Regions from separate parts of the Homo sapiens genome. Here region 1 is linked to region 2. The links are contacts of gene promoters, found by promoter capture Hi-C in blood cells and fetal thymus (Javierre and others, 2016). All regions are on one chromosome and are shown on one strand. The core of a region is centred on a gene start or on the middle of the fragment in contact, and the rest is flanking DNA. Distances in the headings are between cores, read along the strand shown.

The links. The method cuts DNA at HindIII sites, captures the fragments that hold promoters and counts their contacts. A CHiCAGO score of 5 or more calls a contact.
Region 1: the fragment with the promoter of ME3 here is called in contact with the fragment with the promoter of DLG2 in region 2 in 1 of 17 cell types (monocytes); the score reaches 7.4 in monocytes.

The regions. Positions count from the first base shown.
Region 1 is chr11:86,670,202-86,673,970 of GRCh38, forward strand. ME3 (malic enzyme 3) reads right to left here and starts at 2,415. Exons shown (of 15, transcript NM_001161586.3): 1 at 2,123-2,415; 2 at 1,561-1,757. The coding sequence starts at 1,743. The HindIII fragment of the contact is 7,449 bases long and covers 1-3,298 here.
Region 2 is chr11:85,624,960-85,628,593 of GRCh38, forward strand. It overlaps DLG2 (discs large MAGUK scaffold protein 2), which reads right to left and starts at 2,385. Exons shown (of 28, transcript NM_001142699.3): 1 at 2,259-2,385; 2 at 1,628-1,794. It overlaps TMEM126B (transmembrane protein 126B), which reads left to right and starts at 3,634. Exons shown (of 5, transcript NM_018480.7): 1 at 3,634. RefSeq lists a silencer at 292-492 and enhancers at 2,431-2,939, 2,812-2,971, 3,052-3,101, 3,242-3,431. The HindIII fragment of the contact is 9,013 bases long and covers 1-3,634 here.

The DNA of each region.
Region 1 (3,769 bases), core at 1,165-3,664, 1.0 Mb after region 2:
TCTCTTCCCCAAGAGCTACCAGAATAAAAGTATCTTTCTATTCCTGGATGATGTGGTGTGAGAACAGGAGATGGAGGACTGTGGCAATAACGAAGTGAGAGACTTCACTGAATAGAGCTTGAGGATGAAACTGACCTTGCAGAGAGGCAGAGTAGAGAGCCAGAGAGAATCTGCATCTTGAGCAATGCCATCTGGGCTTGTGGTTCAAGCCGTGCCTGCAACCCTTCCTCTAGATTCTTTAGATAAAGGAGCCTTTGTGTGCTTAAGCCAGTTTGTATTTTCTAACGCTTACTAGCAAAGTAATTCAAGGTGATAACAAACACCTTGAACACTTTGGAAAGTGGTAGCGTCCAAACAATTTAAGGTTTCTTTTGGAAAGAGCAGGACTCCAATGTGATAGAGGTTGATTTTGATTTTTTTTTCCTTAGCCGCTTCTATTAGTTCTGTAGGAAACAGTCACAATACTTCACATTATATAGTTGTTCCTACTTCTCAAAAACATCTTTTCCATACAGACTGCCTCACCTGAATTTCACAATCCAGAGTCAGAGCAATTATGAAAAAAAAATTTATTTTGCAGTAATTGTTATTCAGCACTTTATACAGTTTAAAATATGATTTCAAGTTCAGTGATTCATTTTATTGTCACAATAACCAAATGAGATAGAAATGGTGGGTCTATCATAATATCTATTTTAGGCTGGAGAAAGTTGGGCCTCAGATAAGTTAAATGAGATATGTGAGTTAATTTGAGGAGGTAGGGGGAGACAGGACTAAATCTGTCCTTGCTTCTATTTCTCTCACCCAATCCTCTGAACCAAAGATACTAAACTCTATTCCCAAAAACAAATACAAAAGAGCTAGCGGTGGGTTGAACTCGACCAAAGCATTGGAGATCTGGATTCCAGTGGCAGAGCCAGAACTAACTAGCTGGTGACCTTGGGCAAGTTTCCTTTGTCTTGTTTTTTGTAAAAGAAGAGGTTTAAACTAGGATCTCTAATGCTCCTGCAAGCTCGAAAATTTCTATAAGTCTAGACTTTTCCATCCTTGCTCTCAAATTAATCTTTTTCTCAGAATAATAATCATAACCTTATTTATTCTCCCACTGGGTACCAGGCACTGTTCTAACGTACCCCCATTTTCTACCCGCATTTTCTCTTTAGATCTCACGACATTCCTAAGACAATTATATCTCTTTTACAGATAAGGAAACCTAGGCTCATGTAGGTTAAATGAACTGCCCAAGACCAATAAAATTAGTAAGCATCAAGGGGAGAGCTGACCGCAGGTCAGACTGACCGCGAGGATCTAAACCTGGTCTGTGTTGTTACTGCAGAAGAAATTAGGCTCCCTGCATTACTGGTCGCCTCTCTCCACGCATAAAAGGGAGAGGAGGGACAAGAAAGCCAAACCAAGTCACAACAAGCCCCTGCAAGGCAAAAACAGAAAAACCGCTGGAAGGGCGCCCGGGAGGATCCTTTCTGGGTCCAGGGGGCGGGGCGCAATTTTCCGGCAGCCACGGGATCGCAACGCGGGCCGTCCTGCCCTCTGGCCCATTACCTTGTTGAGATGAGGGTTCCTGGTGACATCGTATCCGCGCTTCTTCAGGGGCACAGGGCGCGCCGGGCCAGGCTTGGAGTGGCAGCCTTGGGCGGGCGCGGTGGGTGTCCAGCGCGGGAGGGCGCCGCAGGCCCGGCCCGGCCAGGGAGCCAGCCGCGTGCCTGTCCCCAGCGCGGCACCCATGGTCCTTGGCAGACCTGGCACGGGAGAGAAAGCAAGGTCAGGGCCTCCTTCCAGCCAGCCAGGACCCACGCGCGCTGCGGGGCACCGGGCCTGATCCGGGGACGCGCCCTCTGGGAGAGGGCAGGTGCTCCCAAAGGGTTAAATGTTCCAGCCCCCGCCACTCCTCGGCTGCCACCTGCTCGGCTCCGCGCGGGGCGCCAGGCCTAGCCAAGAGCCAGGCAAAGCGAAACCAAGCCCTGGAAGCAGATCCGGTGCGGGTGACAGCCGGCGCCACCCCTGCCCCCATCCCTGTGAAAAAGAGGCGACTGCGCGGCGAGGGGTCCCCGTACCCCTAATCCCGCGTGGTGGCTTGCCTCGGTCCTCTCCTTCCCTGGCCCACCTGCGCTGCTCGGGGAGCTGAGGTCTACGCGGTCCCGCTGCGGAGCAGGCGGGGTGAGGAGCTGCGGTCTGTGAGTCCTCTCCCGCCAATGGGTGGACCGCGCTGGCGGCCGCGAGCTCGCGGAGCTGGTGAGTTCCTCAAAGAGCGGTCCCACAACCTTTGTTCTCAGTGCCTGGCTTCCCCTGAGGACGCGCGTGGGGCGCCTCAGCACTGCGTGCACGTGGTTTTCCCCAGTGACAAGAAGCAGCTCAGAATGCCCGCCTGAGACTCTCCATCTTGGCAAGACTAAATGCACAGAGGGGGATTTGCGTTTGGGGGTCAGCATATCCTCGCACTCTCCCAACATTCGGGGAAGGGCGTGCCTTCAGGATTTGGAGTAGAAATCCTCAGGCATTCGGTGCTCAGTGTTGCCTTGTGCTGTCCAATATAATAGCCATTCGCCACGTGTGGCTATATAAACGTAAATAAATTAGTCTATATAGAATAAAATTTAACATCCAGTTCTGCAGTCACGCTAGCCACATTTCCAGTTCAAGAGCCACTTGTATGCAGATACAGAACATTTCTGTTTTTGCGGATACTTCTATTAAGCATCATTGACATAGGAGCCACAGTTACTAAGAGGACTTCTGAGGACCCCATGGAGTTTGCCATGGGTTATTGGGGCCAGACAGGGATCTTGGGGTCCATCTAGCCCCAAACTTAATTTTATACTTTCTCCACACAGTAGTCAGGAGATTCCTTTTAAAGCAAACACTTTGTTGTGTGTGGAATAAAATCCAAACTTTCAGGGCCTACAAGATTTCCCATAAACTGGCTCTTGCCAGCCTCTTCAGACTTATCCTACTCTACTCTTTCCTTCTCACTGATCTCTGGCCATACTTGATCCTTCCTGTGTCTTCACCCCACTTGGTTCCCTCCCACTGCAGGGCCTTTGCACTTGCTATTGCCTCTCCTTGGAAGGCTCATACTCCAGCCTTGCAAACCACTACTTCATTCCCACCTCTCAGTTCTCCACTAAGTTGTCAACTCGAAGGCCTTTCCTCTATCCCATTCAATGTCAGCCTGCACTAGGAACTATAGAGTGAAGGGGTTTTTCTCTTTAGAGAACTTAACACAGTCAGTAGCGCGCTTGTTTTTCTGATTGTTTACTGACTATCTCCTGTCTAGAATGTAAGCTTCATGAAGAGAGGCTCTTTGCCTGTGAACCTGTGTGTCCTCACTGCCTAGCTCACTGCCTGGTATGTAGTTGCACAATAAATAGTTGTTAGGTGAAGGGAAGTGGCAGCCACTTTCATAAGGATCGTGAACCCTTAGACTTACTGACAGACAGTTGGCACGGTCCTCTGCTGACACCCCTTCAAAGCTCCCGGTGCCAGCATTAGCCCCGTTGTAAGTACCAAGCAGACATCATGGCCCATAATGTGCTAAGGGGTGCTCCTGCCTGAGTTCAGGATTCCCTCATCCCTTCAGGAATAATCGTCTCCTCCTGCAGTCTCTCTCCTCCCTGTGTAATATCTAATTTTCAACTTGAATGATCTACGTAAAATAGTTATTTCCAAAACAGAATTACAATTACCTGGTAGGAAATAAGGATGGGGCAAAAATACAGCTTTCCAGGCCCCATCCATGAAGATTCTCATCCAG
Region 2 (3,634 bases), core at 1,135-3,634:
TGTAACAGTTCTTTAAAGGGAAGAACTTTTAAGAAACTCGGTTTATGGGGTTTAGAAACATTAAGTTCTAAACTTTCTAACTAAACCTGCTTAGTTAAGTTATACCTAGAATATCAATTGACCTTCCTCCTCTTCCTTCCCACATACCTTTTTATCTCTTTCTCTGTCTCTCCTCCTTCCCATTCTCTCTTCCTTTCACTCTTTTCCTCTCTGTCTCTCTCTCTCTCACACACACACGTAATGTGTTTAATTCCATTATTAGTTCAAAATAAGGTAATCCAAAAGAAACTCTCTAGAGAAATGGTAGAAAGAATAAAAACACACATCAACTTAAATATGTCAAAGAGCCATATCATTTATTGGCTACATTCCCAAAACCATTCTTGTTCTAGATAAACCAATTGTGTCTGGTCTGGACAAGTGTGGCTCCAAAATCTCAGGCAGTTTACTTCTGTCAGTGGTATTATTAGAAACAGCAGGGGGAGGAAACAATCCCAATCTTAAATCCCAGTGTGCAAATATCACAGTTCTAGGTGTTCCAAAAGTTTTATATATCATTGTCCATCTCTACAAATATCAGCTTGGATAAGGCATCTCAGTGATTATAAGTTTCCTCAACATCCCTAACAAATCCACAGGTAGAAGAATTAAACACCATGCAGAGATAAGTTCCACTTTAACCTGCAATTCACCCAGAGCTTTAGTTTCAGATTGTAGCAACTCACATAACTGGACAACATTTGGATCTATATTAGTCCAGTATAGCAGAGTTCAAGGCTGTTCATATAAGTTTTGATTCAAAACTCTTGAGAAACTCTTTACAGTTGATCTCACCTTCCATATAATGTCAAAACAAAACAAAACAAAAACAGTCCCAAACTAGGATCCTTTGGAACAAAGTTAACCTGGGGTGCATCTAAGCTAAACTGAATCCCCAAGTTCAGAATATAATCAACTATGCTTCAGGAATTCACTAGATCTTGATCAATTCCAATAATAAAAGTTGTTGAGGAGGGAGGAAAAAAACAGGTGTTTGCCCCATTTGGGGAACTTGACAATCATGTTATTGGATAATGCATATATCTGGAAAAGCACAATAGTCACGAAAGTTGTGCTTTATCACAAAAGTGAAGATTTACACTAGAATAAATCCAAATAATAAGTCTATTTTTTAACCAAAAGATAAATTATAAAGCTGTAATTTTGTTCAGTGCAAATGAAATTACTTTGCTACCTTTCACAATTCTGTAATTAGTTTGATAAATATTAAACCCATGAGGAAGAGCTCCACTGCACAAGTTTCTTTTTTAAAGACTGCTTAAAAGTAACCTTCAACAAGCTAAGAAAACAAGCTAAAGGAGACTCCAAATCTGCGGTACTGAATCTATTCTTATTACCAACGGTGATATAAACAACCTGATTTATGAAATCATAAATATCTATCAATAAATACTATAGTCTTGCTTCCTTTTACTTTAGTAAAATAATATTACTGAATTATGTACCACTGAAACTATATTACAATAAATATTTCCCCCAAACTGAAGCAAAACTTTACTCTCAAATGGAATATAATTTAAATTACAAGTACCAGAACCAACAAAAGGGAGAAATATTATATAGCAACCTTATGGCCCACCTGTCTTCTTGACTGGCATTCTTGGGTCTTTCCACTGCCACAGGAGTCAATATCTCTTTTCAGGTCTCAGTTTGATCCAGCTGGATTGAGGCCAAGAGCCAGGTAACTGTTGCAAACCACTTCAGTGTTCAGTTTTGAAATCCAGGCTGAGTCTTCTATGTCAGACAAAGAAAATAATGATGTATTTTTTCCACAACTAAACTTTTTACACCGCCCACAGAGTTTACAGCAACGTAATTTTTTAGTTTTTCAAGTTTTTCAATTTTCAGAAAATATTTAGACTGTTTTTACAAACTGGGAAAATTATTGTAAACATGAAGAACGTTACTGAAATTCCTCTTCAGGCAGCAACATTTTTGGAAGTTCAATGACTAACTCAATTAAGGCACAAACCAAATTTAGACAGGTCTCATTACTTTATACATGGTCAAATTCAAAGATGATGATAAAGATACTCAAATCTGTAGAGAAAAATGTAACCCCACCTCCCCAAAAATACTTTTAAAAATCTCTTTGACTCCAGTCTCTAAAAAGATAGGTGAGTTTGAACAGTTTTCTGTGGCAGAACACACATTGAAAGGCCCCCTTATATTTACTGATCAGAAGTTCCGGATCTCACCCCCTCAGTAACTCAGAATCCAGCTTGCTGTCCCTTTCATTTTTTTCTTCTGTGCTCTCCAAGCCCCCAGGCTTGATCCTTAATGCCCCTCTGATTCTGATCCTCCCATGTATTAACCGAGAGGATTGAAAAAAAAGGAAAGCAATCCCTTGGCATGGAGACATTAAAGTGACAGTGCTACTCAATGGGCACTTGATGCAGGATGAGTTGGCGAAGCAGATTTCTTCACACTGGAGTCATTCACATCATGCCATCTCTTCGCATTCAAGCAGCTCCCTATCCGGCGAGGAAAAACACTGAGACTTCGAGAGAAGCCAAACCTTCCCCCAAAGGTGTTTTCAGAGACGCCGTAGTAGTATTAGACATGTAAGCATAAGCTATGTAAACGGTCCGCGATTTCCTAAATGAGAAAGTGCAGCTGCTTGGCTTTCACATCCACCTTTTCTCTCAATCTCTCTTCAAACTACCCACCTTCCTTTTGCAGAAAAGACAAGACATTTCTTTGCCACCGCTGGCCACCCCTGCCCAAGCCCCGTTCTTTTAGGGAAGAGCACTGAAATGTCCTGCACCCTCCACGCGATGAAGTGTTTCCTCAGGCAGGAGCAACAGCAGCACTAGAAATTATATAACTCTCGAATTTGGCTTCTGTAAGACATGGAGACTGGAGGGTCGGGGGTTGCCGGTCTGGGAGATACTGCTGGGCATTTAACGTGCACAAAACAGCGCCAGGCCTTGCAGTGCCCCCCACCCCGAGACACGGCTGACAAGTGGGTCTTCTCGCGGGGGTAGTGGGCAAATTTCTCTCCGGTCTCTTTCCAAGCGGGGCTAAAGGATGCAAATTGAGGGGACTACAGACTGGGGAGAGGAGTCAGACGGCTGAGAGGAGAGGAGGCTAGTCGGGGCTGCTCTGACGGCGCTGGGCGGCTGGTCCGGGGTTTGGAGGAGGAGGTGCCCGAGAAACAGAGCTTTAACACCACACAGGCCAGGGCAAAGGGGCGAGTTCCCTCAAGGACTGAAAGGGGCAGGCAGCTAGTTCCCAGCTGCCCTGAGGAGAGGCAGGAGCGCAGTAACATTACAACATTCGGGCCGCCCCATCTTTCCCGCAGGACGCGAAGAGATCAGGGAGCTAAGCTGATAAATAGTCAGGGAAGGAAATACTCGGCTGGCGAGGGGGGCAGGCCCACAGGCGCCTGGACCTCCTCTAAGCGAATAAGTGGCCGTAATTTCTAGACGCCGCGCCCAATCACAGTCAGGATGGAGGGCGCGGCTTTTGACTGAGTGGGGGCGGGCCCGGGCTGCAATCGAGAGGCGTTGAGCCGTAAATCAGCACCACTTCCCGCCCAGGGCGTTCTGGGTCCCCGCCCACCGGCAAGTCA